4 separate regions of the Homo sapiens genome follow, and all the other regions are linked to region 1. Evidence: promoter capture Hi-C in 16 types of primary human blood cells and fetal thymus (Javierre and others, 2016). All regions are on one chromosome and are shown on one strand. The core of a region is centred on a gene start or on the middle of the fragment in contact, and the rest is flanking DNA. Distances in the headings are between cores, read along the strand shown.

The links. The method cuts DNA at HindIII sites, captures the fragments that hold promoters and counts their contacts. A CHiCAGO score of 5 or more calls a contact.
Region 2: a contact is called between the fragment with the promoter of CARD8 here and the fragment with the promoter of SPACA4 in region 1, in 2 of 17 cell types (total B cells and naive B cells). The highest score is 5.7, in total B cells.
Region 3: a contact is called between a fragment that was not itself captured here and the fragment with the promoter of SPACA4 in region 1, in 1 of 17 cell types (naive B cells). The highest score is 5.1, in naive B cells.
Region 4: a contact is called between a fragment that was not itself captured here and the fragment with the promoter of SPACA4 in region 1, in 2 of 17 cell types (M0 macrophages and endothelial precursors). The highest score is 7.7, in M0 macrophages.

What each region holds. Positions count from the first base shown.
Region 1 is chr19:48,605,090-48,608,383 of GRCh38, forward strand. It overlaps SPACA4 (sperm acrosome associated 4), which reads left to right and starts at 1,653. Exons shown (of 1, transcript NM_133498.3): 1 at 1,653-2,625. The coding sequence starts at 1,890. The coding sequence ends at 2,264. The region is part of intron 5 of FAM83E (family with sequence similarity 83 member E); the gene reads right to left. The HindIII fragment of the contact is 9,007 bases long and covers 1,469-3,294 here.
Region 2 is chr19:48,254,214-48,257,507 of GRCh38, forward strand. CARD8 (caspase recruitment domain family member 8) reads right to left here and starts at 1,699. Exons shown (of 14, transcript NM_001184900.3): 1 at 1,579-1,699. CARD8-AS1 (CARD8 antisense RNA 1) reads left to right here and starts at 1,462. Exons shown (of 2, transcript NR_040599.1): 1 at 1,462-1,581; 2 at 2,138-3,294. RefSeq lists an enhancer at 1,568-1,807. The HindIII fragment of the contact is 2,537 bases long and covers 1,182-3,294 here.
Region 3 is chr19:48,283,929-48,287,222 of GRCh38, forward strand. It overlaps ZNF114 (zinc finger protein 114), which reads left to right. Exons shown (of 6, transcript NM_153608.4): 6 at 1,833-3,294. The coding sequence ends at 2,950. Among named protein-coding and RNA genes, the nearest start is that of ZNF114-AS1, 14 kb to the left of the region's middle. The HindIII fragment of the contact is 1,576 bases long and covers 804-2,379 here.
Region 4 is chr19:48,328,847-48,332,140 of GRCh38, forward strand. EMP3 (epithelial membrane protein 3 (MAM blood group)) reads left to right here. Exons shown (of 5, transcript NM_001425.3): 4 at 506-646; 5 at 1,455-1,707. The coding sequence ends at 1,624. Among named protein-coding and RNA genes, the nearest start is that of EMP3, 4.9 kb to the left of the region's middle. RefSeq lists an enhancer at 556-705. The HindIII fragment of the contact is 888 bases long and covers 1,166-2,053 here.

The sequences.
Region 1 (3,294 bases), core at 403-2,902:
CCCACTTAGGAACACCTCAATGCCTCAGTTTTCCCCTTTGGAAAGAGACGGAATTCACTTCCGGACACTAACAGGGATTGTTTTAAGACCCAGCTGCTTCCTAGAATGACTGCCATTTAGTCAGTCCTGGCTGTGCACCAAGCTCTCCACGTTGCTGCTCCCTGCAGTGCTCATCTGCAATCTGGAGCAAAAACCTAGGAAGGCCGTGTGCAGTGGCTCATGCCTGTAATCCCAGCACTTTGGGAGGCCGAGGCAGGAGGATCACTTGAGGCTAGGAGTTTGAGACCAGCCTGGGCAACATAGCAAGACCCCATCTCTATAAAAAATTTTACAAAATTAGCCGGGCATGGTGGTGCACGCCTATAGTCCCAGCTACTCTGGAGGCTCAGGGAGGAGAATCACTTGAGCCTGGGAAGTTGAGGCTGCAGTGAGCCAAGATCGCGCCACTGCACTCCAGTCTAGGCAACAGAGCAAGATCCTATTTTTTTTTTTTTTTGAGATGGAGTCTTGCTCTATTGCCTAGGCTCAAGTGCAGTGGCACAATATTGGCTCACTGCAACCTCCACCTCCCAGGTTCAAGCCTCCCAAGTAGCTGGGATTACAGGTGCACACCACCATGCCCAGCAAATTTTTGTATTTTTAGTAGAGATGGGGTTTTACCACGTTGGCCATGCTGGTCTTGAACTCCTGAGCTCAGGTGATCCACCCGCCTCGGCCTCCCAAAGTGCTGGGATTACAGGCGTGAGCCACTGCGCCCGGCCAATTTTTTAAAATAAAAAATAAAATTAAGAAATAAATACAACATAGGAATATTCAAATGACTGAATTTGAATCAAGCCCCCTGCACGTAGCTGGCCCTGAGAGCCTGTGAGCTGTGGGGGCCGGTGCCCTAACACTTCCTGTCATCACAGTAGTTGTTATTGAAAGCACCAAGTGCCAGGCGTGGTGTGGTGGCTCACGTCTGTAATCCCAGCACTTTGGGAGGTCGAGGCGGGCAGATCACTTGAGCTCAAGAGTTCGCAACCAGCCTGGCCTACATGGTGAAACCCTGTCTCTACTAAAAATACAAAAATTAGCCAGATGTGGTTGCATGCGCCTGCAGTCCCAGCCACTCGGGAGGCTGAGTTACGAGAATCGCTTGAAGCTGGGAAGCAGAAGCTGCAGTGAGCTGAGATCACGCCACTGCACTCCAGCCTGGGTGACAGAGTGAGAGACTCCGTCTCAAAAAAATAAAAGCAAGCAAGCACTGAGCATGAATCCTGGCACACAGCAAGTGCTCAGTTAATACACCCTCTTCTTTCCCAGCCTCTTTGGAATTCAATGAACCTGGCTCTCATCCTGGCTCGGGGACCCTGGATACATCACTTTCCCCAGCCTTAGTTTACCCATCTGGAATATGGGGTCACTATGGGAGGTGTGAGGCTGAAGTCAAGCCCTTGGCGGGTGTACAGCACAGAGAATGCGGACAAGCTTGTGGCCAGCGTCCTCTGGGTTCAGGGCGTCTTCACCTTGGCAGGGATGGCAGAGCCCTCTTGCGCCCCGGCAGGTCGGCGGGGCAGGCCACCCCTTGGATTGTGACACCCACTCCTCTCACCTATGACCTCATCCCCAGAGCGGCCAGTGGGAACCCTGAGGGATCTGTGAGATCACTCATTCCATTCACAGACTCTTGTTGGGCAGCAGCCACCCGCTCACCTCCATCCCCAGGACTTAGAGGGACGCAGGGCGTTGGGAACAGAGGACACTCCAGGCGCTGACCCTGGGAGGCCAGGACCAGGGCCAAAGTCCCGTGGGCAAGAGGAGTCCTCAGAGGTCCTTCATTCAGCGGTTCCGGGAGGTCTGGGAAGCCCACGGCCTGGCTGGGGCAGGGTCAACGCCGCCAGGCCGCCATGGTCCTGTGCTGGCTGCTGCTTCTGGTGATGGCTCTGCCCCCAGGCACGACGGGCGTCAAGGACTGCGTCTTCTGTGAGCTCACCGACTCCATGCAGTGTCCTGGTACCTACATGCACTGTGGCGATGACGAGGACTGCTTCACAGGCCACGGGGTCGCCCCGGGCACTGGTCCGGTCATCAACAAAGGCTGCCTGCGAGCCACCAGCTGCGGCCTTGAGGAACCCGTCAGCTACAGGGGCGTCACCTACAGCCTCACCACCAACTGCTGCACCGGCCGCCTGTGTAACAGAGCCCCGAGCAGCCAGACAGTGGGGGCCACCACCAGCCTGGCACTGGGGCTGGGTATGCTGCTTCCTCCACGTTTGCTGTGACCAACAGGGAGGACAGGGCCTGGGACTGTTCTCCCAGATCCGCCACTCCCCATGTCCCCATGTCCTTCCCCCACTAAATGGCCAGAGAGGCCCTGGACAACCTCTTGCGGCCCTGGCTTCATCCCTTCTAAGGCTGTCCACCAGGAGCCCGGTGCTAGGGGAAGCATCCCCAGGCCTGACTGAGCGGCAGGGGAGCACGGCCCGTGGGTTTGATTGTATTACTCTGTTCCACTGGTTCTAAGACGCAGAGCTTCTCACATCTCAATCAGGATGCTTCTCTCCATTGGTAGCACTTTAGAGTCCATGAAATATGGTAAAAAATATATATATATCATAATAAATGACAGCTGATGTTCATGGAGCATTCTTTGTTTTCTTTTCTTTTTCTTTTCCTTTTTTTTTTTTTCTTTTTGTAGAGATAAGGTCCAGCTATGTTGCCCAGGGTGGTCTCGGATTCTTGGGCTCAAGTGATCCTCCCACCTCAGCCTCCCAAAGTGCTGGGATTACAGGTATGAGCCACGGCACCTGGCCAAGCCTGTCTTACGTTACGTGCCACTGAATCCTCACACCAAGCTGGGAAGGTAAACACTCTTTCAAACATTTCAAACATCCTGGTCTCAACTCCAATCATTCTCAAAGTGTGGTCCCTGGACCAGAAACAGCAGCAGCAGCAAGTGGGAACTTCCTGAAAATGCAGATTCTCAGGTCCTGTTCCAGGCACGATGAATGGCAGTGGGGTCCAAAAGCTGTGTATTGTTCTCTCTTTTTCTTTTTGAAACAGGGTTTTGCTCTGCTGCCCAGGCTGGAGTGCAGTGGTGCAATCTTGGCTCATTGCAGCCTCTACCTCCTGGGCTCAAGCAATCCTCCCACCTCAGCCTCCTGAGTAGCTGGGACTAGAAGCATGCTCCATCATGTCTAATTTTTATTTTTTTAAATTTTTGTAGAGATGGGGTCCTGCTATGTTGCCCAGGCTGGTCTTGAAGTCCTGGGCTCAAGCGATCCTCCTGCCTCAGCCTCCCAAAGTGCTGGG
Region 2 (3,294 bases), core at 449-2,948, 350 kb before region 1:
GCATTGCAAGATCCCATCCCCCAAATAATAAATAAACTAACTAAGTAATCAATAATTGAATGAGAAAAGTTAGCTCATATTTCAATATGTTCAATCTTAGGATATATACTTCTAGGCAACCACTTAGTGACAAAAATTCTGTAGAAATCCATCATTGAAAGTTCATTATGTAAATAAATGTGAAGACTAGATAAGAACCACAGAACACAATGACATTGGAAAAAATGCCACAGTAATTCTTTGAAAAAAGAAATGCAGGCCTGGTGCGGTGGCTCATCCCTGTAATCCCAGCACTTTGGGAGGCCGAAGTGGGCAGATCACAAGTCAGGGGTTCGAGACCAGCCTGGCCAACATAGTGAAACCCCGTCTCTACTAAAAACACAAAAACAATTAGCTGGGTGTGGTGGTGGGCACCTGTAGTCGCAGCTACTCGGGAGGCTGAGGCAGGAGAGTGCTTTCAGAGAAACTTCTTGATCACAAGGGGAAATCTGAAAGTTGTCAGAACAAAATGGAGTCACTTATGTTAAGATAACCCTGACAAATAGAGCCAGGAAGGCCATGAAGAGAGGGCTCTTATCCTTGCATGCCTGAAGATGAAAAAGACTCTACAAAACCCACAACCTTACATAAAGGTCTTCACAACCTTAAAAAAATATATATTTCTGCAAGGAATGCTGCCCAGCAACTGCTGGTCCAACCTAGGACTAATGTCACCCTTGTTACTGATCTTTGTAGCCAAGGAAAATTCTGTTAAAACAATATGCAATCCTCCCCATTTCTGTCTTCCTTTATCTCCCTGAATATACACATAGTTTAATACGGCATGTCTATTCCCAATTGCAATGCTCTATTCCCAAATAAACATTGTTTCCGGCTGGGCGCAGTGGCTCACGCCTGTAATCCCAACACTTTGGGAGGCCAAGGCGGGCTGATCTCGAGGTCAAGAGACGGAGACCATCCTGGCCAACATGGTGAAACCCCGTCTCTACTAAAAAATAAAAAATTAGCTGGATGTGGTGGTGCACGCCTGTAGTCCCAGCTACTTGGGAGACTGAGGCACGAGAATCGCTTGAACCTGGGAGGCAGAGGTTGCAGTGAGCCAAGATCATGCCACTGTACTCCAGCCTAGCCACAGAGCGAGACTCCATCTCAAAAAGAAAAAAAAATTGTTTCCCTTAGGAAGCTTTCATATGTTTGTTAGTTAGGTTAACACTTCTAATAATTAAAGTTATACAGTTACAGTGTAAAATTATTAGTATTAACAACATAAACATTGGTATAAAAATTATTATTACAGAAATTAAAACAAATTGAGTGTGAGAGAGATTATTAAGACTGTCCAAGCCAAGTCACTGAAGTCATAAATTTAAGTTATGACAGGATGCCGAGCTTCCAGAGGGTTTTGTTTTTAACAAGGGAGGGGCCCTATTTCCCCTTCTGACACGCTCATATGAACTTCTCACTTTGTCGTACTCCTTCCTTGCTGACTAAGAGGAACAGAACACAGAGCAGCCTGGCGGTGTCCTACCAACAAGCCTCCGTTTCTCCTTCCTGTACACTAGGGCTCCTGAAACTCACCTGGTAAGCGCTCCAGAAAAGCAGCAGGTGGTGACTTTAGGGTAGGACGGGCCAAATGGGAGAATCCCCTTAGGTCGGTTTCTCTGGTTCTCAACTTCTTTTGAAATAACGCTCGCAGAGGAGGTGGGCTTTCTGAGAACTGAGGGAAGTAAGCTCTCAGGACTTCCGGTCGCCATGATGGCTGTGGGCAGTCAATGGGGTCAGTGCAAGCATCTGGGCCATCTTTAATGTGGGCAGGAAAAAAACACGATTACACTTACTTCTGCAGAGTTTATAATATCCTTGTTCATTATTTAAAATAAAATATCTAAGACATAGGTAATAGTATATTTTAAATAAAATTGAAGCAATATATGAAATTTCTCTGGAATTCATCCAGCCACTCTCAGCTGTTACCACTATCCAGAAACGTCTTAATCCGCCTGCATGATTTATGTATTTGGTTTGTATTTTAAATATCATTTTCTGTAATATTTAAAAGTTGTATTTGCTTGGTATCCTGCTATGCATTCTCATGCAATTTGATTTTTAATCAATATTACTTTTTTTTTTTTTTGAGATGAAGTCTCCGTCTGTCACCCAGGCTGGAGTGTAATGGAGCAATCTCGGCTCACTGCAACCTCTGCCTCCCAGGTTCAAGCGATTCTCTTGCCTCAGCCTCCCGAGTAGCTGGAATTATAGGTGCATGCCACCACGCTCGGCTAATTTTTTGTATTTTTAGTAAAGACGGAGTTTCACCATGTTGGTCAGGATGGTCTCCGTCTCTTGACCTCGAGATCAGCCCGCCTCGGCCTCCCAAAGTGCTGGGATTACAGGCGTGAGCCACTGTGCCCGGCCTTGGTTTCTAAATACTATTTTGAAGTATCTGTGGAGAAATGGTTACTTCGAGGGCTGGGGCAGGAATATATAAGATAACATTGGAACAAATTCTGACGCCAGAACATGAAGAAATATTTGAAAAAGGATGGGGCATATTGACTGAACACAGAAGACAAACATGCATGACCTCAGCCTAATCGTGAGAAAACATCAAAGAAATCCAAATTGATAAACATTCTGTAAAATAATTGGCCATGCTCAGCAAAAGTGTCACAATCACAAAAGACAAGGGAAGAATAAGAAACGGTCACAGCCTGGAGGAATCTAAGGACATAACAACTGAGTGCAATGTGAGATCCTCGATTCGATCTTGGAGAAGAAAGAGGACGTTAAGAGAAATATTGACAAAATTCAAATAAGGTCTGCACATTAGGTAATGGTAAGATACGTTGACATCAATTTCCTGGTTGGATACTTGTATTACATATACTATTATGTATATAATTATTATATTACAATTACATATACAGTTGTATATTATATATAATACAATAAATGTATATATATGATTATAATACAATAAATGTATATATACAGTTTTATATATAACAACTATTATACATATAATACAATTATATATATAGCTAACATCAGGATAGGCTGGTTGAGGATTTATATGAATCTTTGCTAATTTTGCATGTTTAAAATTATTTCAACATAAAAAAATTATATGGGTCATGTAGTTTTTTGTGCAGTTTAATTCTAGGCACCATAGTTTCTGTTTTAATGGGTGTATTTTCTTCTTTCAAGGAATTGGGATAGTCTGTTGTATTAAAAACCTATTCATTTTTGTACATTAAGATTCTTCTGGCCAGGCGCAATGGCTCAAGCCTATAA
Region 3 (3,294 bases), core at 342-2,841, 320 kb before region 1:
TCACTGTGTTGGCCAGGCTTGTCTCAAACTCCTGACCTCAAGTGCTCCGCCCACCTCGGCCTCCCAAAGTGTTGGCATTACAGGCATGAGCCACTGCTCTCATTTTTAAGGGGATCATGGAGGATAAGGGACTGGAGAATTGGAGACGTTGATTGGTCAGAGGAAGGGGGATGAAATCATCGGGATGAGGAAAGTACATTCTTTGGTGCGTCAGTTTCTCACGGCATTCCTCAGATCAGTGAGCATAGTCATTTCATCAGAATGCAGGACCTGAAGGAATATCTCAAAGAGAAAACTTAATGTTTTATAATTTTCAAGTTGTTATCTACAGAGCAGCTAAGGAGACCTATAGGCCAGGCACAGTGGCTCACACCTGTAATCCTAGCACTTTGGGAGGCTGAGGCAGGAGGAGGATTACTTGAGGCCAGGAAGTCGAGACCAGCCCAGCCAACATGGCAAAACACTGTTCTTTTTGTCTTTAAAAACAATTTTTTTTTAATTAAAAGGAAAAAAAAAGAAAGAAAAAAACAGGCACTCTGTTGCCCAGGCTGGAGTGCAGTGGCTCAGTCTCAGCTCACTGCAATCTCTGCCTGCCGGATTCAAGTGATTCTCCTGCCTCAGCCCCCTGAGTAGCTGGGATTACAGGCACACGCCACCATGCCCAGCTAATTTTTCTATTTTTAGTAGAGACGGGGCTTCACCACATTGGCCAGGCTGGTCTCAAACGCCTGACCTCTGGTGATCCACCCACTTCAGCCTCTCAAAGTGCTGGGATTACAGGCGTGAGCCACTGTGCCTGTCCAAGCTTATGTTTTTTGACTTTTATCCATCCTCTCATATTTTCATTTTTCCCTGCTAAAGGCCTGTTCCTTTTCTCCTTAAAATTGCACATGGAGCCAGCTACTCGGGAGACTGAGGCAAGAGGATCACTTGATCCCAAGAGCTCAAGGCTGCAGTGTGCTGTGATCACACCTATGAATAGCCAGCCACTGCACTCCAGCACCTGGGCAACCTAGTGACACCCTCATCTCAAAAAAATAAAAATTTCACATGGACTCTCTGTCCAATTCTCTTCCACTTAGAATTCCTGATCGTTTCCTTGATCTCTGCAGAACTGTTCCTCAGTAACATGACACTCTCCATGTTGAACCCCTGACCTTACCGTCATCACATTCCTGACACTGCAGAATCTCTGATGTCTTTCTCTGCTTCCTTCCTCTTGCTTTCTTCCCCTTCACATTTTTATCATACATGTTGAGTGAACATTTAGAAAGAAATCCACACAGAGGCCTGGCGCGTTGGCTCATGCCTGTAATCCCAGCACTTTGGGAGGCTGAGGCAGGTGGATCACATGAGGCCAGGAATTCAAGACCAGCCTGGCCAACATGGTGAAACCCCATCTCAACTGAAAACACAAAAATTAGCCAGGCATGGTGGCACGCACCTGTAATCTCAGCTACTCAGGAAGCTGAGGCCAGAGAATTGCTTGAACCTGGGAGGCGGAGGTTGTAATGAGCCAAGATCATGCCACTGCACTCCAGCCTGGGCCACAGAGTAAGACTCTGTCTAAAGAAAAGAGAGAAAGACAGAGAGAACGAGAGAGAGAGAGAGGAAAGAAGGAAGGAAGGAAGGAGGAAGGAAGGAAGGGAAAGAAAGAGAAAAGAAAGAAAGGAAGGAAGGAAGGAAGAAAGAAAGGATGGAAGGAGCGAGGGAGGGAGGGAAAGAAAGAAAGAAAGAAAGAGAGAAATCCACACGGAGATTGCCTATGTCATCATCTCTAACCCACCTTTACTTTCAACAAAGAATTTAACTTTTGTGCCACTGTATTTCAGATTGGGCAACTCCATGTAAAACCAAAGACGCAACCCCTCAGCCGGATATTCTTCCTAAAAGAACATTTCCTGAAGCCAACAGAGTGTGTCTCACGAGCATCAGTTCCCAGCACTCCACATTAAGAGAAGACTGGAGATGCCCCAAAACAGAGGAACCACACAGGCAGGGGGTGAATAATGTGAAGCCACCTGCAGTTGCCCCTGAGAAAGATGAATCTCCTGTTAGCATTTGTGAAGATCATGAAATGAGGAACCACTCTAAACCTACCTGCAGGCTTGTGCCTTCACAGGGAGATTCCATAAGACAATGTATCCTAACACGTGACTCAAGTATTTTCAAGTATAATCCTGTCTTAAACGATAGTCAAAAAACACATGAAAACAACGAAGACGATGGAGTCTTGGGGTGGAACATTCAGTGGGTTCCGTGTGGGAGAAAAACAGAGCTGAAATCAAGCACATGGACTGGCAGTCAGAACACTGTGCATCATATACGTGATGAAATTGATACGGGGGCCAACAGGCACCAGCGGAATCCATTTGGAAAAGCTTTCCGTGAAGACGGATCCCTTAGGGCACACAACACTCATGGTCGAGAGAAAATGTATGATTTTACTCAGTGCGAGAACACCTCCAGAAATAACTCAATTCACGCCATGCAGATGCAGTTGTATACCGCAGAGACAAACAAGAAGGATTGTCAAACTGGGGCAACCTCTGCCAACGCTCCAAATTCCGGTTCACACAAGAGTCATTGCACTGGAGAGAAAACCCATAAATGCCCCGAATGTGGGAGAGCCTTTTTTTATCAGTCATTCCTTATGAGACATATGAAAATTCACACTGGAGAGAAACCGTATGAATGTGGGAAATGTGGGAAAGCCTTTAGATATTCCTTACACCTTAATAAACATTTAAGAAAGCATGTTGTGCAGAAGAAGCCCTACGAATGTGAAGAATGTGGGAAAGTCATTCGGGAGTCCTCAAAATATACACATATAAGGAGCCACACTGGAGAGAAACCCTATAAATGTAAGACATGTGGAAAAGACTTTGCAAAGTCGTCAGGACTTAAAAAACATCTTAAGACTCACAAAGATGAGAAGCCCTGTGAATGAAAGGAAGGTGGAAAATTTTTCATTAATTTTCTGACTGTACCAAACATGTGAGGAGGACATATTGGAAGGGAGCTCAAGGGGTTAGCATGAGTGAGAACATCTTCCCTGAACTCTCGTATCTTACAGAAATGTGAAAAAAAACCCTGTGAAGGTAAAGTCTACAGAAAGCCTTTCATCTTCATTCATCTTGAGTAGACATTTGTTCTCACCCTGGAGAGAAACTGCGAATCTAAAAGGAATATGACAAAGCCTTCAGCGTGGTCTCAAATTCATGGTTCATACAAGAACTCACACTGCAGAGACTCCTTACGGAAATAAAAAATGTAGGAAAGACCTGCCGGCCG
Region 4 (3,294 bases), core at 360-2,859, 280 kb before region 1:
CACAGTGGCTCACACCTGTAATCCCAGCACCTTGGGAGGCTGAGGAGGAAGGATCACTTAAGCCCAGGAGTTCAAGACCAGCCTGGACAACATAGGGAAACCCTGTCTCTACAAAAATTTAAAAATTACCCAGGTTGTGGTGGCTTGTGCCTGTGGTCCCAGCTACTCAGGAGGCAGGGGTGAGAGAATTTCTTGAGCCCTGAAGGACGAGGCTGCAGTGAGCCATGATTATACCACTGCACTCCAGCTTGGGCAACAGAGCAAGACCTGGTTTCAGAAAAAAAAGAAAAAGGAAATTGGCAAAGCAACTACTAGAACTGAGAAGGGAATATAGCAAGGTAACAGGGCTCAAGGTCAAAATAAGTGATACATCTAAGTATCTAGGCTTGTATGGGCCTAAACGGGAGCAGGGATGGGGCAGAGAAGGGTCACATGGTGAGCAAGCAGGTGAAGCTGGAACTCTGGACCCACGGTGATGTCCCCCTCTGTGTCCTCCTTACTGCAGGCTGGCTGAAGGCGGTGCAGGTCCTCATGGTGCTCTCCCTCATTCTCTGCTGTCTCTCCTTCATCCTGTTCATGTTCCAGCTCTACACCATGCGACGAGGAGGTCTCTTCTATGCCACCGGCCTCTGCCAGCTTTGCACCAGTGAGCACTGCCCCTCCCCAACCCTAATCCCCCAAGAATTGAGCAGAAGGGAGTGGGGTGTGTCAAGATGCTGGGGGCCCTGAGAATGGGCCTCTCGTAGAAAAAAACAACTTTCAACACCCCACGAGCCACAAGAGGTGCCTCCGTGGGCTACATCTCTGCCCCCAGGGATTGCTGGGACTTGTAGTTTTCAGTGGCTAATGATAGTTATGGCTTGTGCGTATGAGTCATCAGGGAACTCAGAGTTTCAGGGAGCCGGGGCTGGGGAAGGAGGTATAGGTAAATAGTTTTGGTCCCAGGGATCGGCCGTGACGTGGGGGGATAAACTAATTAGTACCTCAGTAGAGAGCTCTAAATCATAATAATAATGGTATTTATATCAGCCAACCGCTGTTTCTTGCGTGCCTATTGTGCATCAGATACTTCAAGAAGTTTTGCGTACTTTTTAATTTTTTGACTTAAGGTGCAAAGGGCTAACTTAATCACAGTCAGTTTGGGGAACATTATAGGTTCTTGCAAAGCTTCTCTCTTGGTTTATGAATTTACTACTGCATGTTTGGCTTATAGAAACACACTCAAAAATATTCCTTGGATGGATAGAGAGATATTATTGGACCTAGAGAGATTAAATCAGTTACCTAAGGCCGCGCTACAGTTGCACGGCGCTGGGCGGGGGGGAAAGAACCACAACTCCCAGCAGGCAGCGGCGCTGCCCACGGGCCCTCCGGCGCTTCTTTGCCCCCATGGGATATTGGGAAATGTAGTCTTGAGGGGGCACTGCATGACGTGTGGTTTTCATCTTCCGCAGGCGTGGCGGTGTTTACTGGCGCCTTGATCTATGCCATTCACGCCGAGGAGATCCTGGAGAAGCACCCGCGAGGGGGCAGCTTCGGATACTGCTTCGCCCTGGCCTGGGTGGCCTTCCCCCTCGCCCTGGTCAGCGGCATCATCTACATCCACCTACGGAAGCGGGAGTGAGCGCCCCGCCTCGCTCGGCTGCCCCCGCCCCTTCCCGGCCCCCCTCGCCGCGCGTCCTCCAAAAAATAAAACCTTAACCGCGGGCTCTGCCTTGATCTTCCTTCCTTCCGCCTCCAGGGACCCAGGCTGCGCACGCTTGACCTCTCCTGAACCTAACATGGTCCCCACCGCCAGCTGCTCAGCCCTCAGAATGCCCATCTCCCAGCCCCCAACCCCTTCCTCCCGAGGACACAGGAGCCGGGACCCCAGGCACCTTTTCCCTCCCACAGACCCAAGAGCCTGGGCCTTCCCCGCTCAAGGCCCAAGAGACCTCTGTGAGGCACCTGAATCTAGACCTTCAGACACTTCTGGGAAGAACCTGGATTCTGGGTCCCAGCAGACCCTGTTAGGATAGGAAGCCTGCAGTGACCAGTCCTGTCTCCTTGCTCAAGCTTCTGTCACTCTGTTGCTCTCTCTCTCTGAACCCCGGGCATAGTGTGTGTTTCTAGATTGTCGGACTCTTTTTTTCTTTCTGTCCAGGTTGGAGTGCAGTGGTACGATCTCAGCTCACTGCAACCTCCGCCTCCCGGGTTGAAGCGATTCTCCTGCCTCAGCCTCCCGAGTAGCTGGGACTACAGGCACGAGCCACCACACCCGGCTAGTTCTGGACTCTTTTTTCTTTCTACTAACTTTCCATTTGGGAAGACAGCTTTCTTTTTCCCTCTAGGAAACCAGTCTCCCTCTCTCTCTTTTTTTTTTTTTTTTTTTTTTTTGAGACGGAGTCTCGCTCTGTCACCTAGGCTGTAGTGCAGTGGTGCGATCTTCACTCACTGCAACCTCCGCCTCCCGGGTTCAAGCAATTCTCCTGCCTCAGCCTCCTGAGCAGCTGGGATTACAGGCGCCCACCACCACGTCCGGCTAATTTTTGTATCTTTAGTAGACACGGGGTTTCACCATGTTGGCCAGGCTGGTCTTGAACTCCTGACCTCAGGTGATCCACCCACCTCAGCCTCCCAAAGTGCTGGGATTACAGGCGGGAGCCACCGCGCCCAGCCCAGTCTCCCTCTCTAGGGACTGAACATTTGGGGTCCTAGAGAGGGAGACTTCCCCTGTCTCCCCAAAGGCTGCCTCTAGCCCATATGACACGTTAGCAAAAATTAGGAGGCACCCCTTCTTCTGGCTGACCCAGCCCCACACCAGGATACATGTAGGGGTATGGGCTGGGTCTTACAGCCACCCACCCGTGGCTGTGTTCCTTTGTGCAGTTAACAATCTGCACAGGCCGGGTGCGGTGGCTCACGCCTGTAATCCCAGTACTTTGGGAGGCTGAGGCAGGTGGATCACCTGAGGTCAGGAGTTCGAGACCAGCCTGGCCAACATGGTGAAACCCCGTCTCTACTGAAAATACAAAAAATTAGCCAGGCGCGGTGGCAGGCGCCTCCCAGCTACTCGGGAGGCTGAGGCAGGAGAATCACTTGAACCCAGGAGGCGGAGGTTGCAGTGAGCCAAGATCATGCCATTGCATTCCAGCCTGGGCAACAAGCGCGAAACTCCATCTCAAGAACAAAAAAAAATCTGCAAATCTGCACAATCGCACATGGCTACGCTATCTCCTCTGTTCATCAGGCCCTGGGACTCCTCTGGAATCAGATCCTTCTAAGATCCTCTTCTATGACTGTCTTTGTTTCACC